Regions from separate parts of the Homo sapiens genome. Here region 1 is linked to region 2. The links are contacts of gene promoters, found by promoter capture Hi-C in blood cells and fetal thymus (Javierre and others, 2016). All regions are on one chromosome and are shown on one strand. The core of a region is centred on a gene start or on the middle of the fragment in contact, and the rest is flanking DNA. Distances in the headings are between cores, read along the strand shown. Region 1 holds the start of METAP2 (methionyl aminopeptidase 2). Region 2 holds the start of TMPO (thymopoietin).

The links. Contacts are between HindIII fragments. The CHiCAGO score rates a contact against its expected background, and 5 or more counts as called.
Region 1: a contact is called between the fragment with the promoter of METAP2 here and the fragment with the promoter of TMPO in region 2, in 3 of 17 cell types (activated CD4 T cells, non-activated CD4 T cells and naive CD8 T cells). The highest score is 8.5, in activated CD4 T cells.

Annotation. Positions count from the first base shown.
Region 1 is chr12:95,472,663-95,477,855 of GRCh38, reverse strand. It overlaps METAP2 (methionyl aminopeptidase 2), which reads right to left and starts at 3,704. Exons shown (of 11, transcript NM_006838.4): 1 at 3,526-3,704; 2 at 1,678-1,785. The coding sequence starts at 3,676. RefSeq lists an enhancer at 3,488-3,887. The HindIII fragment of the contact is 1,745 bases long and covers 2,907-4,651 here.
Region 2 is chr12:98,512,187-98,517,051 of GRCh38, reverse strand. TMPO (thymopoietin) reads right to left here and starts at 1,462. Exons shown (of 9, transcript NM_001032283.3): 1 at 906-1,462. The coding sequence starts at 1,184. TMPO-AS1 (TMPO antisense RNA 1) reads left to right here and starts at 826. Exons shown (of 2, transcript NR_027157.1): 1 at 826-1,061; 2 at 1,155-4,079. RefSeq lists a silencer at 703-972 and enhancers at 1,313-1,502, 1,763-1,842. The HindIII fragment of the contact is 4,246 bases long and covers 1-3,540 here.

The DNA.
Region 1 (5,193 bases), core at 2,455-4,954, 3.0 Mb after region 2:
GCTAGTAATTCCCTTGAATCTTGGCACTTTTTTCCACCAAATGTTCACTATAAGCTTCTTGAAGGCAGAGAACATACCACTCTAAAGGAAAACAACTACTCTACATTACCCTAACACAATAATTACAGCCCCAACTAATGGTTAAAGACCTAACCCCAGGCTGGTGGTGCTTGAGGGGGAGCAGATGTTCTCAGTAGTAGGCAGCTACAAATAAAAAGAATGGGAAAGCCCCATTTTTCCTCCGCCAAAAGAGGCTGGAAAAAAGTTAAGTTTTCTTACCTGTCTCTTCCTTCACTGTTTTACTGATAACATCAATTAGCAGTTGCTGTCTTTAAAAAAATCTTATTGTACCCAAACACCCAGAAGGAGCTAGGGTCAAGGAATTTATAATAAAACTTAGTGCACTCCTATACGATTCTTTCAGAATGAAAAGAGTTAATTTTGGTATAGAGAGTAAAAGGAACAGGCCGGACACAGTAGCTCAAACCTGTAATCCCAGCACCTTGGGAGGCTGAGGTGGGCAGATTACTTGAGGTCAGGAGTTCAAGACCAACCTGGCAAAACCCCATTTCTACTAAAGATACAAAAAAATTAGTTGGGCATGGTGGCAGGCGCCTGTAATCCCAGCTACTCGGGAGGCTGAGGCAGGAGAATTGCTTGAGCTCGGGAGGTCGCAGTGATCCGAGATCACGCCACTGCACTCCAGCCTGTGCGACAGAGCGAGACTCGGTCTCAAAAAGAAAAAAAAAAATAGAGAGTAAAAGGAACAAACGTGCAGTCAGGCACTAGGTTTGAAATTCTGGCTCTATTCTACACATATTAGCTATGTCACTTTGGGTAAATCATGTAACTACCACTTCCCTATCTGTAAAATGAGATGGCTGGGTAAAGCCATGAAGGGCTGGGTAAAGTCAAAATAAATAGGAAAAGACAGTCCATTACCAAAAAACAAAATGGATATCTAAGCACAAGTAGGTTACTTTGCTTGGTTTTGTGAGGTTAAAATGTGAATGTATGTGAAAATAACCTAGGAAAGTATCTAGTACATAGTAGTTCTTCAGTAAGTATTAGTTAAATAAACAACCCCTCAATCTTATTAATACTCACTACTTTGCCTTCTACCAAGTATATTTTTAAACTCTGAGATCTGTCCTATCTGAACAGCTAATTAACACATTGAACTTTTTCAAGACTTGCTAATAAATACCTTTTCCTTTTTAATCTGTGACATTAATTGAGGTAACAAGTGAAATGTCAGAGAAAACACTATACGAGTAAATAAATTTTGATTAAGGAATATCACATTTTCTAGCTTTTCTTTCTTTCTTTCTTTCTTTCTTTTTTTTGAGACAGTCTTACTCTGCTGGCCAGGCTGGAGTGCAGTGGTGCAATCTCAGCTCACTGCAACCTCCATCTCTCGGGCTCAAGCAATTCTCCTGCCTCAGCTTCCCAAGTTGTTGGGATTACAGGTGTGTGCTACCACACCCGGCTAAATTTTTTTTTGTCTTTTTAGAAGAGATGGGGTTTCAACATGTTGGCCAGGCTGGTCTCGAACTACTGACCTTATGTAATCCACCCGCCTCGACCTCCCAAAGTGCTGGGATTACAGGTGTGTGCCACCACACCCGGCTACATTTTCTAGCTTTTCTAACCACAAAGATCAAATTAACCATTTACCTTCATCATCTTCATCTCTTTCTTTATCTTCCAATGCTGATCTTTCCAACTGTCTTGCTACTTCATCCACTGAGGCTCCTGATTCTTTATCAGGTTCCTGTTCCCCTGCTGATCAAAATAAAATAGCAGAAATCAAATCTAATACAGACACTTTCCCACTAGAATATGCTCTAATGATCTTGGAAAACTTACAAATCCTTTCCTCAGGAAACAAAAACAGAAACATTATTGTGAACATAACAGAATTCGTTTAATGACAGAAAAATCTTCCATACCTACACAGTATTGTCCATTCATTAATTTACTCAACAAAATATCCATTACACACACTAGCAGCTAAAAGATAAACAGCGTGAACTGGTCTCTATCCTCAAGTAGTTTAACTTGTAATAGTGGTCAGCAATTAGACTTAACAAATACTTAAACACCAGATAGGTAATAAATGCTGAAGGCCTTAGGAAAAAGATTCATGTGCAACACCCCGGGGCAGCCTGGTTTCATGAATAAGGATATCACGATGGGCTGGGTAAAGTCAAAATAAATAGGCAAAGACAGTCCATTACTAAAAAACTAAAACGCTCAAATATCTAAGCACAAGACCAGGCCCCTGCTCTGGAAGTGATTATAACCTACCTATAAGAGCAATATGTTACATGCATTAATAGTATCAGGTAGCACGAAATGAAGTGACATTCTGGCTACTGGAGAGAATTCATATTAAGAAATACAACTGTTAAAAATACATTAGGATCAGTCAGCTTAACACCTTACAAGACAAACAGCAGTGTTTGAATTTCACTCGAAATCCAGGAACAGCCACCAGAGTAACAAATTTTGCTCTGGAAGAGTTCCAGCAACGCTACAACTCTCCTTCCATTCCTATCTAATCAAAATTTCAGAAAGATGAAGATTAGCTCTCTTCGACCTCTCTCAATTCCATCTTAATCGCTTCTGACTTCTCCATTTTCTGTTTCTCTGGCGATTTTAATTAGAAACAAGTAAAAATAATTTTTATTAAGGTGAAGGAGCTTGTGCAGCAAAAACACAGACTTCTCAAAATATGTAAGTTCCTAGTTCATAATATCCAACTGTAAACTCTCAGCAGTTCTCCTTGCCTTACCAGTGGATTTAGAGGTTAAGACCTCAGAAGTTCCATTCTGAGCCACAGAATATCCTATCTGCACTGCCTGCAATTGGTATCATAATTCAGGTCTAAAGGCCCTAAAGCTTGGCGATGCTATGGGATTAGGCAGGTGAAAATTCGTTATCACCACCACAAATTCTGCAATTAATGACATGAGCGCGCGGGCAAACACACATGTACACACACCCCAAAAGTGCAGGCTGCAACAACCCCAACGTGAAACGGGATAGTGGGAGGAGGTGTGCTCTCCATTACATTTGCCCACCCCCAAAGAAAATAAGTCCTAGCTTGCTCCAGCAAACCAGCAAAGACGCGGCAATACGGATCAGAATCGGATTTTTGAGGCGGCGGCCAAATCGCGCGAAAGATGGTAGGGCTGTGCTCTGCGCACAATCTCAAGACCGTGCCACGATGTGCGTGGGAGCTGAGTTCTGGTAATACAGGGGCTCGGGCCCAGCGACCCCAGAGGTACCACACGCCAACCTCAGGCACTCTTTTCTCCCCCACCAGCCCTCTAGTCCCACAGGAGGAGATGACGCCTCTTCTCAGACTAGGAATCTATAGCCCGGCTTTGCCACCCTGTCAGGCCCAAGAATCAGTCTAGTCGGGGCTCTGGGGCCCCGGTCCCGGCCCCCTCAACGGGCCTGAGCCAAACAGTTCAGCCGTTCCCGGAGGGGACTGGGAAAACATAAAACTCTCTTTACCTGCAGAAGGCCCTTTGCTCTTCTTCTTCTTTCGTCTTTTTTTCTTGGCTGCTTCCTCAGCCGTAGAGGCAGCTCCTTCTTCCCTGTCGTCTGGATCCAGGTCGCCATTCAGGTGGCTCCCGGAGGCCGCTACCTCCTCCACACCCGCCATGTTGCCCGAGAGAGCGCGAGGGAATGAGACAGAGCGGCGAGGGCCCCGATCCTTCTCCACCCGCCTACACCAGCCACGCCGGAAGCTGCTCTCGATGGTAGGGACGCAGGGAATGCTGGGACGGCGGAGGACTCAGCTGAGGGTGTCGGGCTAGCTTCGGGCCGGGCGTGCAGGAGTCTCGGCTTGGAGCCCCGCCTGGCTGGAGTCGACTGGGGCCAGACCCGACTGCTTCGTCCGGTGCCTCGGGCATTCCCGAAGCAAATCGGCAAGCGCAGGGTGAAGTTTAAAGGGGAAGTTGAGCTCTAGAGTCAGCCGGAGATACCTGTGGAGACGGGCAACCCGCCGTAGCAAGCGGCGTCTCTGCTGGAACGGAAATATTTTATATTTGCGTTTTTATAAATCACACAGGCAGTGGGGAAACGGGCTAAGAAATGTGTTCACTTGTACACATTTCTATTGTCATGACTCCACATATCTCTTAAATCTAAGAGATTTAATCAAATCTGCGTTGACATTCACAATCACAGCTCTCCGCGAGGCTCTGTAGGCACTGGAGAGAATTTTGGAAGCTGGAGTTCCGTGTTAGTTTATTGTACTACTCAACCCCGGACGGTTCAAGATGGGAACCCGTCACACTCCGCTCACTTTCCAATTCAGGACAAGAATGACAGGTTTTAACACACGGGGACACGGTCTCTCTCATTAATGCAAAAGATCACACTCCGTTTTCTCTATTTCTGGTCACCTTTCTTTTGGATTTAGGACGTTTCACCAGAAACTAATTGAATTTTGCCCATTTCTTTACTTCTTATGTTTTGAGCCTCATGTTCAAACCGCAGTTTGAGATTTAGTTTGTGGCGTAAGTGGATTGTGATTGGCTGCCTGCACCAACTCCTTCTCAATTTCTCCTGAATATGGCTTTGTCCACCTGGAGAGTTTAGGTGTTTTCATTAGTTTTAAACTAGGCACCAAGCTTCATGGGCATCAAAATGTCGTTAAGAGCCTTATTGCCAGTGAGTTTACAGTAAACCTCACACAGGCTCTGACTGCAGCTGCATAAATGTACATTCTCTGTCTTAAAGCTTCAGGCAGCACCTATCCAATAGTAATAAAAACTGTTCCTCTTATTCTTGTACAGATCTTTATCTCTTTAAATCTATCCCTATTTAGATTTTAAATTGTTTTCCCTAGTTGATTGCTGGCAATATAAAAGTTGGTAAACCGGCCGGGCGCTGTGGCTCACGCCTGTAATCCCAGCACTTTGGGAGGGCGAGGTGGGCAGATCACAAGGTCAGGAGTTCGAGACCAGCCTGGCCAATATGGTGAAACCCCGTCTCCACTAAAAATACAAAAATTAGCCGGGCGTGGTGGCAGGCGCCTGTAGTCCCAGCTACTAGGGAGGCTGAGGCAGGACAATCGCTTGAACCCCGGGGGAGGTTGCAGTGAGCTGAGATTGCGCCACTGCACTCCAGCCTGGGCGACAGAGCGAGACTCCATCCCCCCCAAAAAAGTAAATA
Region 2 (4,865 bases), core at 213-2,712:
ACCACCTGAGGTCAGGAGTTCGAGACCAGCCTGACCAACTTGGAGAAACCCCGTCTCTACTAAAAAATACACAAATCAGCCGGGCGTGGCGGCGCATGCCTGTAATCCCAGCTACTCGGGAGGCTGAGGCAGGAGAATCGCTTGAACCCGGGAGGTGGAGGTTGCGGTGAGCCGAGATCTCGCCATTGCACTCCAGCCTGGGCAACAAGTGCGACACTCCATCTAAAAAAATAAATAAATAAAAACTAAAAAATTATAATAGGCGCCTAAAAATATAGTTTAAAATGCTCCTTTTAATTCGGCATGAACCTGTTCCGCCAAAAGATGGCCTGTTGCTGGGAAAAATTAAAACAAACTAGAAAACATAAACGGTTCAAAAAGCCCTCCACACGCAAAAGTATAAAAAGGCGGGAATTTCCTCATTTCAAATTTTGGTTAGAAATTAGAGTGTCATCAGTTGCCCTCCAGGGAGCGCTCTGAGACTCTGCTGCGAGTCATTTCAGTTAATAAAGCGGGAAAACGCTCGAACTTAACCTATAGCATTTTGGGGCCACCCCTCCAGAGCTTTCGAAAGGGCACGGAAGTCCCCGTCTAAACGCCCGCTGCAGGCGGCTGGTGGTCCAGGGAAGCGGCGTCGACTGCGTGCAAAACAACCGCCGCCAACGCAACTCCACACCTCCCAGACCCACACGTCAAAGAACGCGAACCCCGCGGCCCCAACTTCTGGCCTCTCCGCTCCGGCGCCTGCAGCCCCGCGGGGAAGGGGCGACGCGAGGGGGCGCAGGGACAGCCCCGCACCTGGGAGGCCCGAGGGGGCGCCCGGGAGGGAGGGGCTGCAAACGGCGGCGAGCGCGCGCGGCAACCGCCAAACGCCCGCCTTTGTAGCCCCGGCCCCGCGTCCTTACCCTGCCGACGGCTGCTCGGCTCCGGCCCGCGGCGGCGGCCCCAGAGCCGAGGACCGGGGTGGGCTCGCGCTCTTCGTCACTGGAGAAGTCCGGGGGCCCCTTGCTGTTGGTGCCGGCGGGGAGCGGCGGCCGGTTGCGAGCCGTGAGGTGCTGCAGGTAGAGCTGGACGTACACGTCTTTGCGCTGCTCCCCGGCCGGCAGCGTCACATTGTTGGCGACCAACTCACTCTTCAACTTGTCTTTTGTCAGGACCGAGGGGTCTTCCAGGAACTCCGGCATCTCGGGGATCTGCGAAGCCCCCTCCCCACAGCCTTTGCCGCCGCCGCTCACGCCGGCGCGCTTGCTCCTGGCCGGGGACCGCGCTGCCGCCTCCGAGCCTCACGGCTCCTGCCCGGGAAGAGCGCTGCGGAGCGGAACAAAAACTCGCGGACACAAAGCCAAGCCAGACCCGGACACAAAAGACCCCAGAGCCGAACTACGAACCAACTGCGGCCAAGCTGGAAGCTCGCACCAACCCCAGCCCACACACTACAGGCAGGAGGCGAGCAGCCTGCTTCGCCCACGCCCCAAGAACGCGCGCCGCCATTGGCGGGCGACGGGAGGAAGCGCGGCGGTGATTGGCGAGACGGCTCGCGCGGGTTCCATTAGCCGCCGCGCTGAGCGAGAGGAGGTAGAAACGCAGTTTAAAAGGCGCTGGGGCGGGAGCCGAGGCTCCCGGCCCGCTTCTGTTTTCGTTTTCTCCACCCTTCCCCTTAGACGCCGATAAGGGACAGGTCGTACTGCTTTTGTGCGCCGTTTCCTCTCCCTCCCCCAGCTTGAGAAGCAGCTTTCGTCTCTGGGGTCGATCGCCTACGAACGCGCCGAATTCCACGCCAGTGTGAGGACCCTTGGCTGGGCCTTTCTTCCTCCCGGGACACTGAAGCTCCAAGAGTAGCCGCAGCCTTGCCTTCCCCAAACGCTAGCCCTGAAGGGGAAGAAAAGAAGCGAGGCTTGTCTGCAGGCACTCATATTCCTTGATTTGATTTACTTTGGGAGGGGGAGGGCGGGGAGTTACCCCTCTCCTCGCGAACGCTTCTTTTGTTCCAGAAACCCAGGGGAAGCCAGACCTCTACAATCGGGCACTTAAATTACCCTTGAATTTGTGACAAAAGTGTACTATACCATTCACTTCTTAGTGTCATAGTTGGGGCATGTCTAAATTGTTTAATTTGAACAGTGCGTTCAGACGCAAGACAAATTCGCGCTTGCATTTTTGTTGAAACCGTCTCTGGCTTTGGATCCCACCACCCGCAAGAATCCTAAACCTAACGTTTGATAACAAAACGAAGGAGAACCCTTGGGAACCCCCTCAATGGTCAATTTAAAATAACAGATGGTGCATAATCCTAAAGGAAGACTAGTGACCTATAATTAGGCCTAGAACCCTAATCAAACCCGTATTACCGATCCAAATTAAAACCTGGTAGAATCTAATACATTGACTGCAATTAAAATGTTTGCCTGGAAATTAGTATCACTGATGACAAATATTTGTATTTCTGATGAATATGTATGTTTAAAGATGCTTTCTTTCTAGAAAGGAAAGGAGACCTTGGATGTAGGGTGTGTTAATCATTTCCCCAGAATCTGAGCTCCAAACTATGTTTTAGAAACTGGTTAAATTTTTTTTAAATGTTTGCCTGCTTTCTACATTGCTAGGTTAGAATACATTTAAAACAAACGCCTTCACTAAAAATGTTTCCTATGATTTAAGCGACTTACTTTTATTCAAATTGCGATATTATTTCTTTTAGTGATAATTATTTTCCTAGAGGTAACTAATTCCTTTATAAAAATCTCAGTATTCACATACATTTAAGCAATGGTATTAAGCTCAATAATGCAAATTAAAAATCAGGTTTTAATTAGCAAGTTGTTAGGTAGGTTTTTATGATCCCTTGTAAAAGTTGCTTGGTTTTTTGTCCTCACAGCTTCCCTGGACACATAGGCAAATGTTTTTATCTTCAGAAGGGGAACTGAGCTGAGAGGCAAAGGACCATGACTTTGCAATGACTGGTAACCCAGTACGTATAATGCAAGAACTGCATTCTAGATACGCCTGAAATTAATGTTTCCTGGGCAAAAACATTTTCATTATCTTTTTTTTAATCCCTGGACATTAGCTACAGGTGGTTACTTGCAGATTTACTGCTGTAGAGCTCCAAAATTGAGATTACACTTTTCAGATTCTGCGTACCCTAAGGCTAAGAGGTTGGGCTATTGAGTTTGGGTGGTCTCTTTGGTCCTGATTGCTACTTCCAAACCATTTCTGCTCTTTTCTGCTTCAAAAATATTTGAAGTTCATATCTTCTGGCTAAATCACTTTCTACTCTCCTTCCTGCCATCATCCACGAGCCTCCTGGTCACTTTCCAGAAATTATAGAGCTGCTTGCCGTAGGTTTTCCTCACCATCCCTCTTGTCTACATTCTATCTGAATTCAGCATGCTTGTAGGTGACCCATGCAACACCAACACTTGGCCTCTTAGACCTCTGACCTCTTCATCTCCAACAATTTGTTCCTCTCTTGCGTCTTAACCACTTCGGTATCAGTCAGATTCTGAACCTTGTCATCAGTTGAAATCTCAGTTTCAAGCTTCCCAATTGTCAATCACTAGCCTTTTTTTCCCAGCTAATTTATGGTACTCTCACTTACCTAATTAAGACCTCCACGCTATTAACCCCAACACTTAAAAAAACTCAACTCTTCTGCTTCTGCCATCATGTAATAATTTTGCAACTCACCTGACTTAAATTCCCTGATCAGTCCTTTTCATCACTCTTTTACAAACATTTTCAACTCTCTGATCTCAATGTCTCCTTTTTTGCTTGAAAGAATCTCAGCCTTGCTTGGACTAAACCATGCTCCAGCTGAACTTTCTCATTGCTTACATCCAAACAGCAAAAGCTGCTGGAGAAAAGTCAGTCATATAACAAGCTAACTGGTTTTAATTCATGACCTCAGTCCTCTCAGGAGCACTCAACACTGGCTGGCAATGCTATTCCAGTCTCTGGGTTAACCATTCATACGTTCACATCTCCTCAAATTTCACATCCTTTTTCCCTACCTCTCATTTTTAGCTGGTGACCTTGCCTCAACTTCAAAAAATAAAAACCACCTATGAGGAATGCTTCAACGTCAGACTTTCCAATTTGCATTCATTTTCTCTTGCATTTTTCTTTTCAGTGAAAGATGTGTCCTGTCAGAAGGAAATTCCACCACTTGTACTCTGGCTCTCACCCTTCTCAAGGAATTGACTCTTTCCATCATCTCCTTAATACTTGTTTCAACATAAAAGATAATTTTTAAAATATTTGATCAATGTGACACAAAAAACACAAAGGCTGAGCACTGTGGCTCACGCCTGTAATCCCAACACTTTGGGAGGCTGAGACAGGCGGATCCCTTGAGCTTAGGAGTTCAAGACTAGCCTGGGCAAAACAGTAAAACCCCCTCTCTACAAAAAAATACAAAATTTAGCCATGGTGCCCACCTGTAGTTCTAGCTACTAGGGAGACTGAGGTGGGAGGATCACTTGAGCCTGGGAGGTTGAGGCTGCAGTGAGCCATAATCCTGTCACTGCATTCCAGCCTGGGTGACAGAGTGAGACCCTGTCTCTAAAATCAATATGTGTAAGATGTAGATTGGTCCCTTCCAGAAAGGCGGGACAACTATTAATAAAAGTGGGGGTTGGGGGGCTCGGGGTGTTCCAGGTCATTGGTAGATAAAAGTAATTTTAATTCAGAAAATTTCACAGGGAAATGAGAGTTTTTAGAAGTCTTAATATTCTGACTGTGGTCAGAATGTCCAACAGAGACTAGGCTGGAGTGCAGTGACGTAGTCTCGGCTCACTGCAACCTCCGCCTCCCAGGTTCAAGCAATTCTCCTTGCCCCAGCCTCCAGAGTAGCTGGGACTACAGGC